Regions from separate parts of the Homo sapiens genome. Here regions 1, 2 and 4 are each linked to region 3. The links are contacts of gene promoters, found by promoter capture Hi-C in blood cells and fetal thymus (Javierre and others, 2016). All regions are on one chromosome and are shown on one strand. The core of a region is centred on a gene start or on the middle of the fragment in contact, and the rest is flanking DNA. Distances in the headings are between cores, read along the strand shown.

The links. Contacts are between HindIII fragments. The CHiCAGO score rates a contact against its expected background, and 5 or more counts as called.
Region 1: a contact is called between a fragment that was not itself captured here and the fragment with the promoter of TMEM117 in region 3, in 1 of 17 cell types (M2 macrophages). The highest score is 5.6, in M2 macrophages.
Region 2: a contact is called between a fragment that was not itself captured here and the fragment with the promoter of TMEM117 in region 3, in 1 of 17 cell types (M2 macrophages). The highest score is 5.1, in M2 macrophages.
Region 4: a contact is called between a fragment that was not itself captured here and the fragment with the promoter of TMEM117 in region 3, in 1 of 17 cell types (M0 macrophages). The highest score is 5.1, in M0 macrophages.

The regions. Positions count from the first base shown.
Region 1 is chr12:44,938,171-44,943,741 of GRCh38, forward strand. No RefSeq gene overlaps it. Among named protein-coding and RNA genes, the nearest start is that of NELL2, 65 kb to the left of the region's middle. The HindIII fragment of the contact is 168 bases long and covers 3,325-3,492 here.
Region 2 is chr12:42,134,406-42,140,179 of GRCh38, forward strand. All of the region lies in intron 1 of GXYLT1 (glucoside xylosyltransferase 1), which reads right to left. Among named protein-coding and RNA genes, the nearest start is that of GXYLT1, 7.6 kb to the right of the region's middle. The HindIII fragment of the contact is 3,412 bases long and covers 746-4,157 here.
Region 3 is chr12:43,834,831-43,840,339 of GRCh38, forward strand. TMEM117 (transmembrane protein 117) reads left to right here and starts at 1,251. Exons shown (of 8, transcript NM_032256.3): 1 at 1,251-1,366. RefSeq lists silencers at 926-1,035, 1,066-1,505, 1,492-1,724. The HindIII fragment of the contact is 19,666 bases long and covers 1-5,509 here.
Region 4 is chr12:42,362,158-42,367,864 of GRCh38, forward strand. The region is part of intron 4 of PPHLN1 (periphilin 1); the gene reads left to right. Among named protein-coding and RNA genes, the nearest start is that of PPHLN1, 39 kb to the left of the region's middle. The HindIII fragment of the contact is 791 bases long and covers 3,819-4,609 here.

The DNA of each region.
Region 1 (5,571 bases), core at 2,159-4,658, 1.1 Mb after region 3:
GATGTCCTCCCTCCAGAATGAGTGAATTCTTACTCTATTAGTTCCTCCAAGAGCTTGTTGTTTAAAAGAGCCTGGCACCACCCCCAACCCTTGCTTTCTCTCTCGCCATGCGATCTCTGAACACACAGGCCCCCCTTTATTTTTCACCGTGAATGGAAGCATCCTAAGGCCCTCGTCAGATGCCCAATCTTGAACCAGATATCACAATAGTGAGCCAAATAATCCTTTTTTGTTTATAAATTATTCAGCCTCATGTATTCCTTTATAGCAACCTAAAATGGATGAAGATAGGGTACCTACATCAGTCTGGGAATTCATGGCAGAAAGCAGAACAAAATCTTGAGGGGTAAGAGAAAGGGGAGAATATTTTTCACTAATTTTCCCAAATCAGTGGGTAGAAACCAAATGGTGAAACCCTGGATGACTCCCATACTCCAGTATACTTTTCTTTTCTTTCTTTCTTTTTCATTTTTTAACTTTTACTTTAGGTCAGGATTACATGAACAGATTTGTTATGTAGGTAAATTGCATGTCACAGGGGTTTGGTGTACAGATTATTTCATAACCTAGGTAATAAGCATAGTATATGATAGGTAGTATTTCGATCCTCTCTCTCCTCCCACTCTCCACCCTCAAATAGGCCCTAATGTCTGTCATTTCCTTCTTTGTGTCCATGTGTACTCAATGTTTAGTCCCCGCTTATCAGTGAGAATATATGATATTTGATTTTCTGCTCCTGCAATAGTTCAATTAGGATAATGGCCTCTAGCTCCATCCATGTTGCTGCAAAGGACATGATCTCATTCATTTTTATGGCTGAGTAGTATTCCATGGGGTATATGTACCACATTTTCATTATCCAGTCTACCATTGATGGGCATTTAGGTTCATTCCATGACTTTGCTATTGTAAATAGTGCCCAACATATTTCTCAAAGTACTCTCCAGACAACTATGCATCCCATATGAACTAAAAAAAGCACAGATTACAGAATGACCCTTTGGTAGAATTAAACATCCTCTCCTTCTGTGCTCCCACAACGTTTGGTTCATAACCTAATATAAAACTCCTTGTGAATAAATATTAATAATTATTTACCCATTTACTTCTCCTAAGAGAAATCAAAACTATCAGCGAAGGATATGAACAGACACTTCTCAAAAGAAGACATTTATGCAGCCAAAAGACACATGAAAAAATGCTCATCATCACTGGCCATCAGAGAAATACAAATCAAAACCACAATGAGATACCATCTCACACCAGTTAGAATGGCAATCATTAAAAAGACAGGAAGCAACAGGTGCTGGAGAGGAGGTGGAGAAATAGGAACACTTTTACACTGTTGGTAGGACTGTAAACTAGTTCAAGCATTGTGGAAGTCAGTGTGGCGATTCCTCAGGGATCTAGAACTAGAAATACCATTTGACCCAGCCATCCCATTACTGGGTATATACCCAAAGGATTATAAATCATGCTGCTATAAAGTCACGTGCACACGTATGTTTATTGTGGCACTATTCACAATAGCAAAGACTTGGAACCAACCCAAATGTCCAACAATGATAGACTGGATTAAGAAAATGTGGCACATATACACCATGGAATACTATGCAGCCATGAAAAATGATGAGTTCATGTCCTTTGTAGGGACATGGATGAAGCTGAAACCATCATTCTCAGCAAACTATCGCAAGGACAAAAAACGAAACACTGCATGTTCTCACTCATAGGTGGGAATTGAACAATGAGAACACCTGGACACAGGAAGGGGAACATCACACTCTGGGGACTGTTGTGGGGTGGGGGGATGGGGGAGGGATAGCATTGGGAGATATACCTAATGTAAATGACAAGTTGATGGGTGCAGCACACCAACATGGCACATGTATACATGCGTGACAAGCCTGCACGTTGTGCACATGTACCCTAAAACTTAAAGTATAACAAAAAAAATGCTAAAATAAATGATATCCACACGTAAAAAAAAACCAAAACTGTCTTATTCATCCCTATACTTAATCCCAACCACCTGAAATTCAGCAAGCAACACGTTTGTTGAATTGAATCAATTATATCTTACAGTAGTGTTTAGCCAAAATAATAAGTTCATGAATAAGAATCATAGATGTAGCAGACCAGCACTGAACAACAGGGTTACTGATTTATTTCTAAGGTTGTCACTTACAAAGCTCTCGTTTTGCAGTTTTTCAGTCCTGGATCTATTTTTATAAAATATCCTGATCAAACAAGGGCAACAGATAAAAGAAAAATTATCTCCATCTTATATCTATGTTTTTATTTGTAGGTGGAAACTTGGTGTGATTTTTTTTCTAAAAAAAAATCTTTCTTTAAATAAAAATCTAAAGAGGCAGCTTGCTAACATGGTAGAGAACAAAAAAGAATAAAGGGAGAAAAATTAAAATTTCCCACAAAGATGACTTAAATCTCCCAGTGTGGTGCATTTGTTTTCAATTCTCTCCTCTTTGCTTCTGACCTCTCAACTTGCTTGTTTGTTTGTTTGTTTGTCTTTTGAGACAGGGCCTTACTCTGTTGCCCAGGCTGGAGTGCAATGGTGCGATTTTGGCTCGCCGCAAACTCCGCCTCCCAGGTTCAAGTGATTCTCCTGCTTCAGCCTCCCGAGTAGCTGTGATTACAGGCACGCACCACCACGCCTGGCTATTTTTTGTATTTTTAGTAGAGACAGGCTTTCACCATGTTGGCCAGGCTGTTGTCGAACTCCTGACCTCAAGTGATCCCCCTGCCTCGACCTCCCAAAGTGCTGGGATTACAGGTATGAGTCACCATGCTCGGCCCTCTCTCAACCGTTAGCTCCCACTCACACCCCTCCCTTGACTTTATTTTTTACCTAAAACATTAACACTTGATTGTGGAATAGTTAGTAGCAAACACAGAGAGAGAATTTGTTATAAGTCATTTCTTAACAAAGAACCATTTGAAATCCAATTTCTGTTATGACTTTTACTTTTTTTGGACATCTTCAGGCATTTACCTCAAAATATTATCAAAGTGTTTGGCTGCAAAAAGAAACAAAAATACCAACTTTTAAACAACAAATGGATGTAAAGCTCTCTAAAGAAATCAATGTTAAATAAAAAGTTCAAAATGTCCTATACTTGCTGTGTGCTTAAATGCTGAAAAAGGAAATGTATGCCAGGAAAAAACTATTTCATATGATTGTGCCATATGTATACAGATCAAGAATCTAATTCACAGCAACTCTATTTTTAGGTGAGGACCAACAGTTTTATAAACTGGTTTGGAAAGAAGAAATGTTTCAGCAGTCACTAGATAAGAGGAAAAAGCTTGATGTGAAATAATTCTTTTAGTTCTCTGTAGGGTCAAGGATTCAAGTATCACATACAAAATGCGATGCTGAAATGGGGGAAGTCACTATAACATACTGCAAGTCTCTCTAATTTAAAATGCCATTCAGACTTGTACTCATGGAATACAAAGTGCTTCTTATAAAGCTTGTATTACAATCTATTTCTTAGCTCCTACTTTGGATTAAACAAGATAGTTACACAAAAGATCCAGGAGTAGTATCTGACACTTAACGGTTTCCTTTTCCTTTTCCTTTGGAGGTAAGAGGAATGTGAGCATGTTTCTAATTTCCAAGGAAAAATTATTAAATATCTTTGAATCTTGGTTTCTTCCTGTGAAGGATGATAAAACCACTTCATCAAGTCATTGTAAGGGATAAAAGTTATAGCCGATATAAATAGTTAATTGTATGTAGTTGCTCAAAATAAAGTAGCTATCATTATTAGCACTATATTTTTAGAGTGGTTTAGTATAAACTGCATATCCAAACTTCTAACCTTTACAATATTCACCAAAACTCAAATCTAAATAGACAAAGTATGCTCAAATCATGATGTTATATAGAAAAACCTCTAAGGTGGTTAAGCGACTTTATTATGGTATTTTAATATCATGAGTTTTCTCAAAGTGTAAGCTTTGAAATTTTAATAATAAAACATAATGATCCATCTATATTCCAGTTTGTTCTTCATCAAAAATGGGTTTCCAAGAAGAAAATCTAATTGTACCAATGCAAAAATCCTAGTAATGACTGGCTGAAAATCTGAGCAGCTCTGAGGTAATTAAGTTGAAAATGCCAAGGAAAATTGTATTTTTGTGGTTGTTATTTTATTACCCTTTCCAGCAATTTTCCACTTGAATACCTTTTAAATGTATAATTTAGCCGCACTTTATTCTTTACTGTATATCAATATGGGAGGCAAATAACTTAACAGAAGACCTGGAACCACCAAGAATTCTGGTTCTAGTTCTTGTATTGATTTAGCTCTTGATTTTCCATATTTAAATTAGGATAATAACCTGACCAGTTTCAGAACCATGTTGTCATGACCTCTTCTTCTTTTTCTTTGAGTCTCTCCATCTCCTTTCCACCACTGCCAGTCCCCAAAATACTGTGGAACTGAATTTATCATAAGTGAATTGCTTGCATTAAATTATCTGATATAAAGTAGTATTTGGCATAAAAATGATCATAAATGTTTTCCCCCTTCTTATAAATAATGCTTTTTCCCTTTTTCTCAACAGTTCTAATTGCCTCTTATTAAACCTATGAAATTAACTTCTCCTGATTTTAGTAATTCCAGTCATTTCAGCAAACCCAAGAGAGCCAAGGACTGAGCTCTGGAACATTCTGTTACTTAAAAGTCAATATTTAAAGATTCAAAGGTGAATCCCATCAAGGTGGAAGCCTGATTCGATTTGTCATGAGGATATGGGCTGAGACCGTGGAGACATTAAGGTTGGCTGTAAAGGGTGGTCAATAAATCGGTAGCTATAGGGGACATAAAAGCGAACGAGGGTTCTATTCTCCCTTGATCAATATTACAGCACATTACAGCAGGGAGAAGAGAGATATAGTGATTATGCAAGACAGAACAGAGATAATTATGTCAGCAAATTCTTGAGAAGGTGAAAAGAGATGGAATCCAGTGCACAAGTAAAGGGATTGTTTTTAACATGGGGACAGAGACCCTTCCTCTGTAATAGAAATATTCAGATGTGAGAGACTAGGTGGTGGGAAAATATCATTATCTTCTGATTGCTTCTGTTTGCTCAGCAAGATAAGAAGCAAAGTCATCAGCAGAGAGTGAAGAACAAGGAATACAAGTTGGAAATTTGATAAGAAAAAGTGTAACATAGTAACCTCAGACAGGGAAAAAATAATTCAGTGAGAAAATGGAAACTGTGGTTGACAACTGCAGAGAGGCACTAAGGGCCCACTTGAGACACAGTCATGAAAATTAAGAGAGATCCCTCAGCTAAGTTAGATGTTCCTCTCCAACCATGAACTGCAAGCTTGGTAAACATTTATTAAATGTTTATTAAGTGCCAAGCACTATTCTAAACACTTCATTTTTATATTACTTTATATTAATACGTTTGAGCCCGCAACAACTCCATTAGATAGGTATACATGAGGAAACTGAGGCACAGAGCAGTGAAGAAACTTACTCAAGCCACATGGCTAGTAAATGTTCGACTCAGGATTCAAGGAGCGTGGGT
Region 2 (5,774 bases), core at 1,202-3,701, 1.7 Mb before region 3:
GGCTCAAGCTATCGTCCTGCCTCAGTCCCCAAGTATCTAGGACTATAAGCATGTGCCACCAAGCCTAATTTTTAAAAAATTTTTTGTAGAGACAAAGTTTTGCTTTGTTGCCCAGGCTTATTATTTATATCCCATTACATGTGTGGAAATCACTCAGCCCTCCAATCACATGCTTCCTAAGTATAAGCTCCCTGCTTTACCCATTTCCCTCCCTACTCAGACTACATCATATGGTTCATCCATTCATGTTCCTATACCTGCAAACTTCCACCTTCTTCTTTCACCGTACCTTTTCAGCACAATCTTCAGTTGAAACTGAGCTGTTCATTCACATTCTCAGATGAATACTGAAGAACAGTTAATGACATGACTATGCTGATTAGTAGAAATATAAATTAATTGTCTTCCCCTTAGCTAGTCTCATACCTATTACCAACTCCATATGCTTCCCCTTGTTGCCCATCTTCTTCTCAGGAGTCCTTAAAGACCTTCTTGCATCAATTAGTCTTTCTTTCTCCTTAACTGGCAATCTCTATTTGTGTAGTAGACTGTATTACTGTTCAGTTATTCACTCCCCACATTTAACTGTAAAAGGATTATACAACCCTATTCATTACCATGGGCCTTGCCTGCCTGATAAGGGAGGCATATATCCCTGCATCATTTATTGACTTTGACCTTATTCAAGTGACTTGCTTTGGCCAAAATAATATAAAAAGACATGATACTGTGGCATCAAAGTAGAAGCTTCAAATGGGACTGTGTTGTTCAATCTGGCTTCTTGCTCATCCACTACCACAAGACCAGGCATATCCAATGTATGGATTGCTCCTTTAGCTTGGATCCCAGGATGAGAAGATATATCAAGCAAAGTCATAGCCATAGACATGTAATGTGTGCAAGAAATAAATGCTTGCTATTGTAAACTGTTTAGATGTATGGGGTTGTTACAAAGCAAAGCAGAATAATACAAGCATAATTCCCTTTTAAAGTGTGTAATTCAATGGTTTTTCGTATATTCAGAGTTGTGCAACCATGACTCACCAATTAAATTCCTCAGTATATACTCAAGAGAACTGAAAACATGTTCACAGAAAAACTGTCCATGAATGCTCAGAGCAGCATTATTCATAATAGCCAAAAAGTATGAAAGAACTCAAATGTCCACCAAATAATGAGCAAAATGTGGTATATCCATACAATGGACTATTATTTGTCCATAAAAAGGAATGAAATATAGTGATACACGCTACAGTGGATAAACCTTGAAATATTATGCCAAAAAGAAAGCCAGATTCAAAAGGCCACATACTGTGTGATTCCTTTATGTAAAATGCCCCAAACAGGCAGACAGAAAGTAGACTCGTGGTTGCTCATGACTGGGGGACTGAGGAGTGCAAGGTGGGAGTTACTGTTACTGGATACAGGGTTTCTTTGGGGGGTAATGATTTACTTCACAAAGGTTTAATGCAGTCAAAATTGGATAGGAAAAATCAAGTTATAGGTAAATTTATTGATCATAATTCAATGTCAAAAAACACATAGTATATAGGAAAGATGTTTTTCTTTCTTTACTGGAAATATAAGAACACATGCACTAGTGAATACATATGCTGCATACCATTAAAAAATCATAAAACACTTAGGTATTGCTGTAAGGAATGAAGTAATTTGTTTATAGTTTTTTAACTCCCAAATATCTATTCTCCCATTTTGAAAAACTGGTTTGGGAGATTTAGATAAAGAGTAGAAACTCACACTGAGAACTTATGACATATCAGTGGCTTATTAGAAGCAATAAGATAAATTAGCAAAAGCAACTCATCTGAAGACAGCACTTGCACTTTTAGGCCAAAAAGAAAAATTAAAGTTTGAAAATACTGGAAAAGTAAAGGTAGTTATCCAGGTTCTGGCTATTAGTTGCTTAAAACTGTTGAAAGCAGAATATTAAACATCCAACATTCAAAGAGGTAACTCTATTAAATAATTTTAATGAGGCAAAGCATTAATATGAGTTAGGTGGGTATGTCTTCACTATACCCATACTGACATTCAAAAGCACTGAAGTCCTAAAAGGGAACTTTTTCACTGTGGATCAAACTGAAATAAAATGTTACTATGGCTCATCCTCAAGTTTAATAAGGCATAAAGCATCTAGCTCTAGGTAGCTTGTCTACAACTGACCAAGGGGTAGCACAAGGTACCTTTGCGGTGATGAAACAATTCTGTATCCTAATCCTAATTTTGGGGGTGGTTACATGTATTTACATGTGATAAAACAACACTCGGCATAATAACATTTGTCAAACTTGAAGTTTACTTAAAACCAATTACAGGAGGTTTTTTATACATACATACATACATACATACATACATACATACAAACAAACACACACACACACAAGTCGCCCAGGCTGGAGTTCAGTGGTGCGAACACGGTTCATTGCAGCCTCAACCTCCTGGGCTCAAGCAATCCTCCCACCTCAACCTCTGGAGTAGCTGGGACCACAGGCGCACACCACTATGCCCAGGTAATTTTTTGTATTTTTGTTGTTGTTGAGAGAGTGTTTTGCCAAGGCTGGTCTAGAACTTCTGGGTTCAAGCAATCCACCCACCTTTGCCTCCCTGCTAGGATTACAGGTACGAGCCACCATGCCTGGTTGTACTTTTAAGTTAAACTAGAAAAAGTAATTTTCATTTCAAAATGTCCAAGATAGGAGGCTTCAGTGAAAACTATGCAAAACTTACCAAAGAGTCAGTGATACGAGATGAGCCTGACCAACATGGTGAAACCTCATCTCTACTAAAAATACAAAAATTAGGCCAGGCGCAGTGGCTCACGCCTGTAATCCCAGCACTTTGGGAGGCCGAGGCAGAAGGATCACAAAGTCAGGAGATCGAGACCATCCTGGCTAACACAGTGAAACCCTGTCTCTACTAAAAACACAAAAAATTAGCCAGGCTTGGTGGCATGCACCTGTACTCCCAGCTACTTGGGAGGCTAAGGCAGGAGAATCGCTTGAACTCAGGAGGCAGAGGTTAAAGTGAGCTGAGATCGCGTCATTGCACTCCCGCCTGGGCGACAGAGCATCTGTTTCAAAAAAAAAAAAAAAAAAAAAAGCGGATCACAAGGTCAGGAGATCGAGACCATCCTGGCTAACACGGTGCGGTGAAACCCTGTCTCTACTAAAAATACAAAAAATTATCTGGGCGTGGTGGCAGGCGCCTGTAGTCCCAGCTACTTGGGAGGCTGAGGCAGGAGAATGGCGTGAACCCGGGAGGCGGAGCTTGCCTTGAGCCGAGATCATGCCACTGCACTCCAGCCTAAGTGACAGAGCGAGACTCCATCTCAAATTGAAAAAAAAAAAAAAAAGTCAGTGATAAATTTAGGCATATTCAGCATAAATATTTGACAGTATGAATGAAGTGCTGCTGCAAAGCAGTAATGCAACTTCAAGGCATGTATACCCTCCCTGTGACTGTGCAAGAAAAGCAAAGATGCTTACGGACACATTAAAGGAGGCCATTCCCATGATACTGCCAAATCACTACTATTTAATTTTCAACTAAATTGTTTCCAAGTCGGGCGCAGTGGCTCACGCCTGTAATCTCAGCACTTTGGGAGTCTGAGGCAGGCAGATCACCTGAGGTCAGGAGTTCGGGACCAGCCTGGCAAACATGGGGAAACCCTATCTCTACTAAAAATAAAAAATCAGCAAGGTGTGGTGGCATGCGCCTGTAGTCCCAGCTACTCAGGAGACTGAGGCAGAAGAATCGCTTGAACCCAGAAGGTGGAGGCTGTAGTGAGCCGAGAGAGTGCCACTGCGCTCCAGTCTGGGTGACAGAGACTGCGTCTGGGTGACAGAGACTGCGTCTCAAATAAATAAATAAATAAACAAACAAACAAATAAATAATTTCTAGACAACTTAACTTCTAGCTCTAAGTAAGATCTTCTTTTTCTTAAATTTCTAATTTCATTAATCCTTGGCAAGTAGGAAAAGGACTGCTTATATATAAATGACACTGAAACAATCATCTACCCATTTCAAAGAATAAGTTAGCATCACACAATATACCTCCTCTACCAGCCCCCAGCTCCCCCACAAAGCTGGATTGATTTAAATCTAAAAAAGGGAGGGGAAAAAAACTGGTAGAAAGCTTTCCTATGCGTAATAAAGGTAAACACGATAAAGTAAAAAGTAGCCAATCTGAAAACAAAAATCATAAACCTCATACAGTACACACATTATGAACAAAATTTAAGTTTATACGTAGGGGAAGTACTTCCAATAGGTATGGCATATAGATAATGATCTTACTGCTTTAAAATAAGATTTTCTAGGCAGGGTATGGTGGCTCATGCCTGCACTTTGGGAGGCCGAGGCAGGTGGATCACCTGAGGTCAGGAGTTCAAGACCAACCAGGCTGGCCAACACGGTGAAACCCCGTCTCTACTAAAAAATACAAAAAGAAAAAAACAAAAAAAGCTGGGCAGTTGGCACACACCTGTAATCCCAGCTACTTGTGAGGCTGAGGCAGGAGAACTGCTTGAACCCGGGAGGCGGAGGTTGCACTGAGCCAAGATCATGCCACTGCACTCCAGCCTGGGCAATGGAGCGAGACTCTGTCTCAAAAAAAAAAAAAGCCAGGTGTGGTGTGCACGCCTGTAGTCACAGCTACTCGGGAAGCTAAGGTGGGAGGATCACTTGAGCCCAGAAGGTCAAGGCTGCAGTGAGCCATGATCTCAGGCCACTGTACTCCAGCTTGGGTAACAGAGTGAAACCTTGTCTCAGAAATAAAAAAAAAAAGATTTCTAAATCAAAAGTACATATTATTTTTTCATCAACCAAGTAACTTTCTCCTCCAAAAGCACAGAATATTTTAATTAATTAATTACTAGTATTTATTAATATGTGTCAGGTTTGGACTAAGAATTTGCTATGGTCTGAATGTGTCCCCTCAAAATTCATATGTTGAAATCTAATTACTAACATGATGTTAGGAGGTAGGGCCTTTTGGTAGATGATTAGGTCATGAGAGCAGAGCCCCCATGAATGGGATTAGTGGGGGGCCTTATAAAAGGGGCCTGCCTCGCCTCTTCTACCATGTGAGAACACAGGGAGAAGGCGCCATCTATGAACCAGGAAATGGGTCCTCATCAGACACTGAATCTGCTGGTACCTTGACTTGGATTTCTAGTCTCCAGAACTGTAAGAAATAAATTTCTGTAGTTTCTAAGCTCTCTAGTCGATGGTATTTTGTTATAGCAGCCCAAAGAAACCAAGATAACCCTTCACAAATATGTAACGTAGATACCACTATGATCCTTCAATGACCTAAAATACAAAGTATAGGGCACTGGTTTTATGTAAGATGTTTTTGCAATAACAAAGCAGAGATTAAAGTGGCTTTAGTAAGTAATTCAACTTTCTTTACTGTTCACTGACTCAACTCTCTTCTTCAAACATAACTGCAGAAAAAAGGGGGGAAAAGGGCTGGGCACGGTGGCTAATGCCTGTAATCCCAGCACTTTGGGAAGCCGAGGTGGGCGGATCATAAGGTCAGGAGATGGAGACCATCCTGGCTAACATGGTGAAACGCCGTCTCTACTAAAAATACAAAAAATTAGCTGGGCATGGTGGCAGGCACCTGTAGTCCCAGCTACTTGGGAGGCTGAGGCAGGAGAATGGCATGAACCCGGGAGGCGGAGCTTGCAGTGAGCTGAGATCGCACCACTGCACTGCAGCCTGAGTGACAGAGCAAGACTCCATCT
Region 3 (5,509 bases), core at 1-2,500:
GTCAAATTAGTGGGAAGTATGGCAGTGAATTCCCAATTATGCCTATGCAGATAAACTACCCTATGGCACTTGGGCATGGCTCTCTCCATCCCATCTTAAAATCCGCGGACATCTCAGTTCTCCCTCTTGCCATCCACCCATTCCTGAATCAGGCTACCAGTACAGGGGAGGGCCTAGCTCTGCCTTCATAAGTTTGCTAATATGGGCATATAGAAATCCTATTTTCCATTTGATTATATACACTAGTGATAACTTCCATTACCACAAAATATTAGCATGCTGGATAGCAGCTGTTAACACGTTTTCAGCAACCGGTAAACTGAGGTAGCAGTTGCTATTAGGTGTGGAAGGAAACAGAGGCCACACATACATGATGGAAAGGAGGTTACATTCAGGAAGAGAGGAATTGGTCAGATGTAGTCAAAGGGTCTTCCTGCCCTATGCCGCAGAGGTATCATTTAGGTATCATAGAATGACAGGCTCCGGAGAGCCTCAGACTGCAAAAACTTTAAAAATTGTACATGAGTATGTGTGCTGATGTACATATGTGTGTATGCATGTGTATACGTGTGCTTATGTGTGTATACATATGTATGCATGAGTGTATTTGTGCATCTCTATGTGTGTATGAATGTGTGTATGTGTGCATATGTGTGTGTGTGTGTGTGATACCAGGCAGGTTGGAAAGTAAGTGGAAGACTTCTCATACTCCTCATGGGCTCTGCCTCTCCCCACCCCCACATCCCCACACCACCAACAGACAAAAACAGAAATCATGTTTTGCGACCTGAGATTGCTTTCGAAAGTTTGTAGCTCTTCGAGGACATTCCAGTGGGACCCTCATTGGTTCCCTGCAGGATGGTGGATTTTCTGTCAGCCGCCCCCCAACCCCCACCAGGTTCCTGAGTCCGTCCCTCGCCTGCAGCTGCCGCTCTGCAGAGGCGGGCCGGCCCGGGCAGGCTCGGCCCGTGGCGCACGCGGCCCGCGGGCTGGAGTCAGCCCGTGGTGCGGGCGAGAGGGCAGGGGCGGGGAGAAGCCATGCCTCCAGCTGCAGAGGTTGCACACAGCTGGCATGATCGCGGTCACCTGCGCGGCGCCGGTGCCCTTGCGCTCGCGTTGCCCGGCCCGCGGCCGCGGACTTTGCGGCGGGAGCGCGGCGCGGTGAAGCACCGGCGCGGAGGGCGCCCGGCGTAGGCGGCGGCGGGTGTGGGCCGAGCCGGTATTTATAGCTCCGTGACAGCAGCAGCGGCAGCGACGCCGCCGGCCCGTCTCGCCGCGCTTCCCAGCGAGGCCGCCGGCGCGCCGAGGGCTGTGCTCGACCGCGAATCCCGTGTGCAGTCGCCCCGCGCCCCGCGCGACCCTTCGGGTGAGTACGTGGGCCCGGGCGTTGGGCGAGCCTCCCCAGCCGTTCGGTCCAGCCGCAGCGGAGCCCTCCCGGCCCTGCCGCCCGTGTCCCGGCTGCCACCTCGTCACTGCCCGCGAGTGCGGAAGCAGCCGCGGAACCCCGGCCCGGCCCCCGAATTCTCCGGCGCCTCTGCTCCTGCCTTCCTGGGGATGGCAGCCAAAGAGGCAGGGTGAAGTGTCAAGGAGGGAGGGGGGACGCGCCAGCCCTCTGGCTAAGGGCAGAGGAGACTCCCGGGCGAAAGGCTCTTGGTGGGAGTCCTCAAACTCCCGGCTCCAGTGTGTGTGCAGAGATACGGCGGGAGAGCAGACCTTGAACTTTCCTTGCTTCAGCGATTCCTAGCCTAGGAACTGAGTAAAAGCCCTATTTTTCTTAATTAAATTAACAGGTTGCAGTTCGTAGGTGTTGTTCTTGGGAAAAAAACAAAGACTTGGGTGTTTGGGTGTTTGCTAACTTCATCGTGACTAAATAAAACTATTTTTTTTCATTCCTATTTTTGAAAATGCCACAGGCCCACAAGTGTGTTCTACCCTCTGTGGAACAATGAAGTATGTGTATGTGTGTGTGGGTGTGCGTGTGTGAGAGAGAGAGAGACACGGGAGTAAACATCACATGCTTATCAGGAACCAAAAAGGAAAAAAAATGAGTAAAAGTATGTTGAATATAAGGGTATGTATTGCCCCCAATTATAAATGATGTATTGTCTGAAATCCAAGGAAGGACTTCTAGGAAGCTACAGGGTTTTGTTTTGGCTTCAGAAACAAGGTCTTCCAATTTATTGAATATAAAAGTAGTTGAATCCCTGTAAACCCCATTTTTTTTTGTAAAGTATTGACATTTGACCATGGATATACTTTCTTTTATCCCCCAAGTCTTTATAGTTTAAAAGTAATTATGGATTTTGACATTTTGTCTCAGGCATTTATCCCTCCTATTCCACCCTCCATCTGATCCGTGTGATGAGAAACTGGCTCTTGTCAGTTTTATCTAAGTTTCTTTAAGCTGTCATTAAAAAATAAACTTTTCACATGAATTCTATTTAATTCATTAAATGTGTTTTTCTTTGGCATTGTGTTTGGAATATGATCATGGCAATTTCTTTTCTTTTCTTTAATTTCTGTCTTTCTTTCTTTCATGGAGTCGGGCTCTGTCGCTCAGGCTGGAGTGCAGTGCCATGATTTCCAGCTCACTGCAACCTCCGCCTCCCGGGTTCAAGGGATTCTCCTGCCTCGGCCTCCTGAGTAGCTGGGATTACAGGCGCGCGCCACCATGCCTGGCTAATTTTTGTATTTTTAGTAGAGATGGGGTTTCACCATGTTGGTCAGGCTGGTCTCGAACTCTTGACTTCGTGATCCGCCCGCCTTGGCCTCCAGAAATGCGGACATTACAGGTGTGAGCCACTGCTCCGGGCTGGCAATTCCTTATTGCAAACAAATCACTGAAAAGGAGGTCTAAACATTTTTAAAGGATATAGTAGTGATTATATTTTAATTTTATAATGTGCTCCGGCTCATAAATATTTTGCCATTTCAATGGAGAGTTTTCTCTGTTCAGAGGACCCCTAGACCTACTTTGCTTTTGGAGTTGCTGTTTTAAAAACTTGCATTGATTAAGCAATTTGTTTACCCAAGGACTGCAGGATAGGAACAAGGGAAGAAAAATCACTTAAAGGTTGAGACAATGTGAAGAGAAAATCTAGGAAGTGATTTATAGATGTAAACCTCTAAATTAGCTAAGGTACCACAAATATTATCCTGGAATCTATCAGAACCACTTATGGTGGTTTTATTGATTGACTTAAAAGGTTGCTTTTTATTTAAAAGCCCCTGTGGTCTTTTGTATTAGACTAAAAGTAAGAAGTTCTAACTTTATTTCTGTTATTATTGCTATTTGTGTTTTTTTTTTAACCTGTATTAGGCACTTGCATTATGTAAAATGCTATGTATAATCTTTTCCTGCCTTTTTATCTAACAATTTAAGATAATGTACTCAGACCTGTCATTACCTCAGGACTGGTCTGTGTGTATGTGTACATATGTGTGTGTGTGAGACCAGGTAGGTTGGAAAGTAAGTATAAGACTTTTCATACCCCTTGTGGGCTCTGCCTCTCCCCACCCCCACATCCCCATACCACTAATAGACAAAAACAGAAATGATGTTTTGCCACCTGAGATTGCTTTTGAAAGTTTGTAGCTCTTTGAGGACATTCCATATATTTGGTTTTTCACCTTTCTTCCATTTATCCTTTTGCAGATTTGGATATGTATTATCCAGACTCTACTCTCTCTGGAATGGAGTCTTCCAGTTTTTTTTTTTTTTTTTTCCCTCACCCAGGCTGGTCTGTTACGTGTTATCCATACATCTGTTTATTCATTTATTCATCCATCAGCAAATATCTATAGAGGGCCTACTAGATTCAAGTCATCACTTAGTACTTACTCTTACTTCCTTCCCATTGGAATTTTATTCTGTGTTTTATACTTCACACAATGGTAACTAAGAGTAATAACTTTGGGGTTATATAGAGGTAGTCGTGCCTGTTTCTGTCAGCTGGTAGCTTTATGACCCTGGACAGATCATAACCTCTCTGAATTTCTGTTTCTTCACTGGTAAATCCAAATGGCAGGTATCAGGAATAATTGAGAGAATACATGGATAGTGATTTCCAAGAGCCCAACCCCTAAAAGCACTAAAAAGTGTTAATTACAAGTTTGCTGTCTATATCTACTGCATCCCTCTTCATCTCAGGAAATGCATTTTCCATCTCAGGAAATGCATTTTCTATCTCAGGAAATGGCAGTTCCATTCTGGATTTTGCCTAGGTCACATCTACATCCAATGTATTAGTAAATTTTATTAGTTATTTTTGAATGTGTCCAGAACCAGAGTTGTTTAAACTGCCTTAATTTCTCTCTGCTTGGTCCAAGTTGCTGCATCTTTGGCAACGGCTTCCTCAGTAGCTTCCCTGCTTCTGTTCCTTGCCCTCCTTTCTTACAAAATATTTTCAACCAGGAAACAGACAGGCCTTTCTGTCATATAAGTCAGATTGTGTCCCTCCTCTGCTTCCTGTCCCACTCAGGGTGAAAGCCCACATACGAGGGCTTCAAGGCCTGCTCATGATCAGATGCTACCTTCTGTACCTAATCTCTTTCATACTCCCCTGCACCTGCTCCCCATCCAGTCATACTGCCCTCCTTAACGATCCTTAATTTGCTCTAAATGTGCACCCAACAATGGCCTTTCCAAGTTTTGTTCCCTCTATCTGGATCACACTTTCCCTAGATAGCTGCTGTCTTCTCTCCCTTCTTTCATGCCTGTCTTCTAATGTCACCTTATAATGAGGTCTTCAACTTCCCTCACACCTGACACTCCCTGTTAACTTTTCCTTGCTTTAATTTTCTCTTTGAACTTTCTTAAATACTGTGTTTAGTTTTTATCTGTTTAATATCTGTTTCCCTCAAAGAAACTATCAGATGCATGGCAACAGGACTTTGTCTGGTAGTTACCCTAGCACATAGGCCAGTGCCTGGCAAAAAATAGGCAACTGGTAAATGTTGAACAAATGAATGAATGAATGTTATTATGGAATTAACAAATCTGTACATCATCACTTTTATATGATGATCAGCACTCTTTTGCTCTGAAACTTTTGATAATTCTCTATTTTCAGTAAAATACAGACCAACACTTTTGGATAATCTTTGTTGGACTGGCTCCAAATTATCCTTAACTCTCACAGGATAACCCCAAGCACCCAGTGTTCCAGCCACACAGAACTAGTGATACATCTCTACATCAGCCCCAGGCGGTTTCCTTTGTGCCTTTGCACAAAATAGAAGTACTGTGATTTTTTTTTTTAATATCAGATGGCTTTATTTTTCTAACTAACGTAAAGGGTAAGATTTTAGAATTTATGTCCTTGTGTGTGGAAGGCATTGCATGGAGTGTTGAAGCCAGGTGGCTTGGATTTAAATTGTGGCTCTGATATAAATTAATTTTGTTATTCTTTACAAGGTACGGAACTCTAAGTCTCTGTTGCAATATTTGTAAAATGAGGAAAATAATATTTTCTTCATTGGGTTGCTATGAAATTTAAGAGATGCTTGT
Region 4 (5,707 bases), core at 2,964-5,463, 1.5 Mb before region 3:
TTTCTTGTGCTTATTGTTCATTTGTATATCTTTGGAGTAATGTCTGTTTTGAGTTTTTTGATTTTTTTTAACTGGGTTTTTTGTCTTTCTGTTGTTGAATTTTAGGAGTATGATATTAAACTGTATGTGATACATGATTTGCAATATTTTCTTCCATTCTGTTGATTGTCTTTTTACTTTATTGATAATATTCTTTGATGCACATTTTAAATTTTGATGAAGTCCAATTTATCTAATTTTTTTCTTTTGTTACTCATGCTTTTGGTGTCATATCTAAGAATCCGTTGCCAAACCAAGGTCATCTGTGTTGTTTTGACATGTCCACGTCATTCTTTGGTCACCTCTTTCTGACACAAGATGTTTCAGTCTCTTCTTAGGCTTCTCTGCCTCACTCTAAATTCAGGTGTTTCTCCAAGGAGCACGGGCCTTCTATAGTGGAGAGTGATTTTTTGAAGCTAAGAATCTGAACACACAGACACACACACAGACTTTTACTTCTGCATTTATTTTTATACAGTGTTTATGTGTATTCATGACTATGAGATCATGGCATTACCTTTTCTTTTATTGCATACTTTTATCTCCTTTTTCCATCTGTGGGAAATCTGGCTCCCAGTTGTTAGGAGAGACAGTCCTCCATGGGTGTCTTGCACTCCTGCACATCTTGCCAAGATATGCAAGACCCTGGTCACTCATTATTCAGGGTAGTTCTCAGAGATGTGTTTGTAATGAGCAATCTTGAAGGCCAGAGTAATGTCTCCCTGTTTGTCAAACAGCAGGCTTGCTTATTGCTTGGTGTAAAAATGGTGGGTTCCTTAAGTTCAGTGTTCCTCAGTTGTGACCCACACCCACTGCATGTGCCACATTTATCTAGGCTTATATCATGTTACCCCTGGACTTGGTACCAGAGAGAACTGACACAAACATGCCAATGCTTGTGTTGCTATGCTATGAGTGATAAAGTTTTTTCTCTGACCCAGAAGTCTGCTAGGATCCAGGAAACAGTAACAGTCTTAATTTATAACCTTGTAGGTAAGGCAAAGTCAAATTCCAGACCTGACACCAGTATCATCACTGTGTTTGTTCACACCCCTAAATGTGATTATTATCCTGACCCCATGAGTCTTTCTTATTGCTCTCTCCAGCACCTTTTTTAAAATTAATTAATTAATTTAAAAAAAAATTTTTTTTGTAGTTTGCCACCACTGGGTGGGTGTTACAGGGCCACCTTGCATTCACACCATCTTCCACAGGCCTATTACTGGCAGTGGAACTTTATACTCTAGCTATTTTTTTTTCATTTTGTTATGTGTTTCATGCTGTGGAACATACTTTATAAATCTAGTATACGTGTATTAGTGGTTTATATTCAAATGTGTTTTACTAATGGAAGCGTGGAATCATTGGAAGCAACTAGATTAAATAACAGCTAATGGAAGAAAAGAGAATGTGTCAAGTTTTCTGTCATTTTCCCTGATGCCCACTCCCCACTGCCCTGCCCCGCTCTGAAAGTGATCACTTTCATATTTGGGCATGCCTGGTGAAGTTATCTACATTTCAAGTGTGTCATCACCTGCTCGTCTTGTTTCTGTATTTACACAATGATTATATTGTCTATTTTTTCAAAACATACTTATAGATGAAATTCAGAATATATCAGGATTTATTTCATTTTGTATCAAAGAAACATGCTATACTCTACCAAGAGTTAGTGACTTAGAATGAGGTTGTTTTCAGGTCATTTTTTCCCCCTGTAGTTATGAGATCTTATAATAAACCTTAGCGGTCGGGCTCAGTGGCTCACACCTGTAATCCCAGCATTTTGGGAGGCTGAGGTGGGCAGATCGCTTGAGGCCAGGAGTTTGAGACCAGCCTGGCCAACATGGCAAAACCCTGTCTCTACTAAAAATACAAAAATTAGCCAGGCATGGTGGCACGTGCCTGTAGTCCCAGCTACTCAGGAGACTGAGGCATGAGAATTGCTTGAACCTGGGAAGCGGAGGTTGCAGTGAGCCAAGATTGCACCACTGTACTCCAGCTTGGGCAACAAGAGCAAAACTCTGTCTCAAAATAAAATAATAATAGTAATAAATCTTAGGATGGAACTGATTTGAAGTATTATATAATGTTGAAAAATATGGAACAAGAGTGTCATCAAGTGGCCAATATACTTTACTTTTAAATGCTAGGGGCTGGGTGTGGTGGCTCACACCTGTAATCCCAGTACTTTGGGAGGCTGAAGTGGGAGGATAGCTTCAGCCCAGAAGTTCGAGACCAGCCTGGGCAACATAAGGCGACCCCATTTCTACAAAAAAAATTAAAAAATAAGTTGGATGTGGTGGCATGCGCTTGGTACCTTTGGAAGCTGATGTGGGAGAATTGCTTGAGCCTGGGAGGTTGAGGCTGCAGTGAGCTGTGATCACACCATTGCACTCCACCCTGGGTGACAGAGTGAGACTCTGTCTCAAAAAATTTTTAAAAAGGCCAGGCAGGTGGCTCATGCTTGTAATCTAAGCACTTTGGGAGCCCGAGGTGGGTGGATCACCTGAGGTCAGGAGTTTGAGACCAGCTTGGCCAACATGGGGAAACCCCATCTCTACTAAAAGTACAAAAATTATCTGGGTATGGTGGCATGCTCCTGTAATCCCAGCTGCTCGGAAGGCTGAGGCACGAGAATCACTTGGACCTGGGAGGCGGAGTTTGCAGGCGAAGGCGTGCTGTTGCACCCCAGCGTGGGCGACAGAGGGAGACTCCGCCTTAAAAAAACAAACAAAGTTCTAGTTGGAAGATCTCTTAGTCCATATCTTATGCCTGGAATACTTTCGTTTGTTCTACTTTTTCTAGAATGCTTTTAACTGTAAACATGTGATTTTGTGGAAACAGCCTTGAACTTGACCACCAAACTTCTAATCTGAACTCAAGCAGGCAGACAGGTGTTTGATTTTTTGATAGGATAGAAGAAGAGGTGATATGGAAAATTCCTCAGCTTAAGTCGCAGTGTCTGTGGTTTTCCGTTTCCACATTTAAAATAAAAGATATTTGAGGTTGTACTTCACTTATTCTTAAGCTTGCCTTGCTAATTACCTGGCTGCTTTCTCAAAATAATTCTTGAAATCGTAATTCTTTTTGGAAGTCCCTATTGACTAGAAAGGAAGTAGCCAATATTTTATATGAATATTTGTGTATATTTGGATGTGGGAAGGAGAGAAAAATGAGGTTCAGAATAAGAAGTAAATGCTTTCCATCTCCCCATTCTTCCCTTCCCTTGTATCCCTTTCTCCCACTTTGTCGAATTTTACTCATAACCGGTGAACATATGTCTGCTGACACTGAGGGTTCTATCACCGCTTACCTGGTTTGACTGATGTGAGGGGCGGGAATTACCTTGGGGATTTGTATTAACAGGAGAATCTGAGCTTCAAAAATCTGCTTTTCAAATAAGCATCTAAAGTAATCTGCAATCACAGATGGTTCAAGGACCACATTTTGAGAGACAGTGCCTTATGGGGTGTTAGTTCTTCCCTTCCTCCATTCTCCTGATGACTTTGCGTCTTTTATATGCCAGCCAGTATAGCTGGAGTGTTTGCGATATAGCCAAAGACACTGTCCTAACTCTCAGGCTGTGTACTCTTTGATAATAAAAAGCATCAGTTTCGTCAGATGTGTTTTTTGGAGGCCTCATAATCCTGGTTGTATTGTTATTTATATTTCTTCAAAGGCCCTTTTTGATTCATCGTATAGTTCATTGTATTGAATGCATTGTATCATATATGTTGATACCTTCATTTCCAACATAGCTAGAAACCTATAGTTTTGAAAGCTTTTGTTGTAAGTTTTCTCTCCATGGTAAATGGACCTTTGTCTTACTTGCAGTTTTTACCTGGTGATTTATGGAACAGTATTAAAAATATGTCCAGACTTTAATATACTGTTTCTCTATTTAGCATGCTTCAGGGTTATGGATAAAACAACAAAAAAATCCTTAAAATCGAGATGATACTTGCACAAAGAAAATTATACTAGTTGATACTGAGTGGTTTTTACAGCTAACCACTAGTACCGGACACTTTTTTTTTTTTTTTTTTTTTGAGACAGAGTCTCACTCTGTCGCCCAGGCTGGAGTGCAGTGGTGCGATCTCGGCTCACGGCAGCTTTCACCTCCCAGGTTCAAGTGATTCTCTTGCCTCAGCCTCCTGAGTAGTTGGGATTACAGGCGTACGCCACCATGCCTGGCTAATTTTTGTATTTTTAGTAGAGACGGGGTTTCACCATGTTGGCCAGGCTGGTCTGGAACTCCTGAACTCAGGTGATCTGCCCTCCTCGGCTCCCAAAGTGCTGGGATTACAGGTGTGAGCCTGCACCTGGCCTTTCTTGTTTTTTTTTGTTTTTGTTTTTGTTTTTGTTTTTTTGAGACAGGGTTTCCCTGTCCCTGTGTTGCCCAGGCTGGTCTCTAACTCCTAGGCTCAAGCAATTTGCCTGCCTCAGCCTCCCAAAGTGCTGGAATCACAGGCCTGAGCCACCGTGCCCCAGTGAGTTGGCATTTTAAACACAGGTTTTAGAACTTTCCTGGAGGCTGAGTGAATATTTTTAAAGATTAAGTGTCTCCTTAAGCTTTATCATGAATAATATGCAACACTTGGGTTTGGCTAGAAATCACTAGGGATTTAATGGTCCTAAAAAGGGAAATACTACTCTGGCCCATAAATCAAGGTTAAACTTCTAGGGTCCACACAGAGATAAAATATTAGATAGGACTGCAAATATGACTGTCAGAACGCCTTTCTTATCTTCATGAACAAGTTTTTTTTCTCTCTCTGTACACAGCCATACATTCATGTCTGTAAATACCTGGCTTTTTTAGGCTCAGTTTCACAAAATGTTGCAGAATGCTTTTAATTCTTTCTCATTCTTCTCATCACAATTAACTGTTGAACATAGTTTGCACTAGTTTTCAAATGTCAACCATGAGAGTTTCTATCTCAGGGAAAAAAGGAGAGATTATAAAAGAATTCCACTAATCCGTAAATGAGAAAGGGTATCTTGATGTTTATTACTGTTTAATTTTCCTTCCAACACTAACAGAGGTACATATACAGCTACTATGAATAATGGTGAGTACTCTGTGAATACTCTTAGGTACTAGTGCACATGATGTTAGTTTTACAAAACAGTTGAGTCCTATTTCTGTTAAATTTTTATCCCCTAGTATAAAAACACAATTTATGATAAATCAGGTAAAAATGAAAAATCAAAGTCTTAGTTTCTTTTTTTTTTTAATTAAGACACCATGGAAAGGTCAAACTAAGCAACCTTATGTCTTACCTTATATCTAAACAAAACCCTTTCCTAGATGTAATTCTTTGGCACAGTAACTGATTAGAGGAGATCATTTGCCTATTTAATAGAGAAAACTTATTTTAACTTTGTTATCTTAAATATTAATATTTAGTGAGGTGATATTTTTCGTCTATCTTCCATTGAATTATCTTCGTATCGTTTGTCTGTTTTTTATTAGTGTGTTCATCTTATTCTTAGTGGTTTTGCTAGCATTCATTAAAAGATTAAAAGTAAATCATTATTATTATTAAGTTTTTGAAACAGAGTCTCGCTCTGTTCCTCCAGGCTGGAGTACAGTGGCGTGATCTTGGCTCACTGTAACCTCCGCCTCCTGGATTCAAGCCATTCTCCTGCCTCAGCCTCCCGAGCA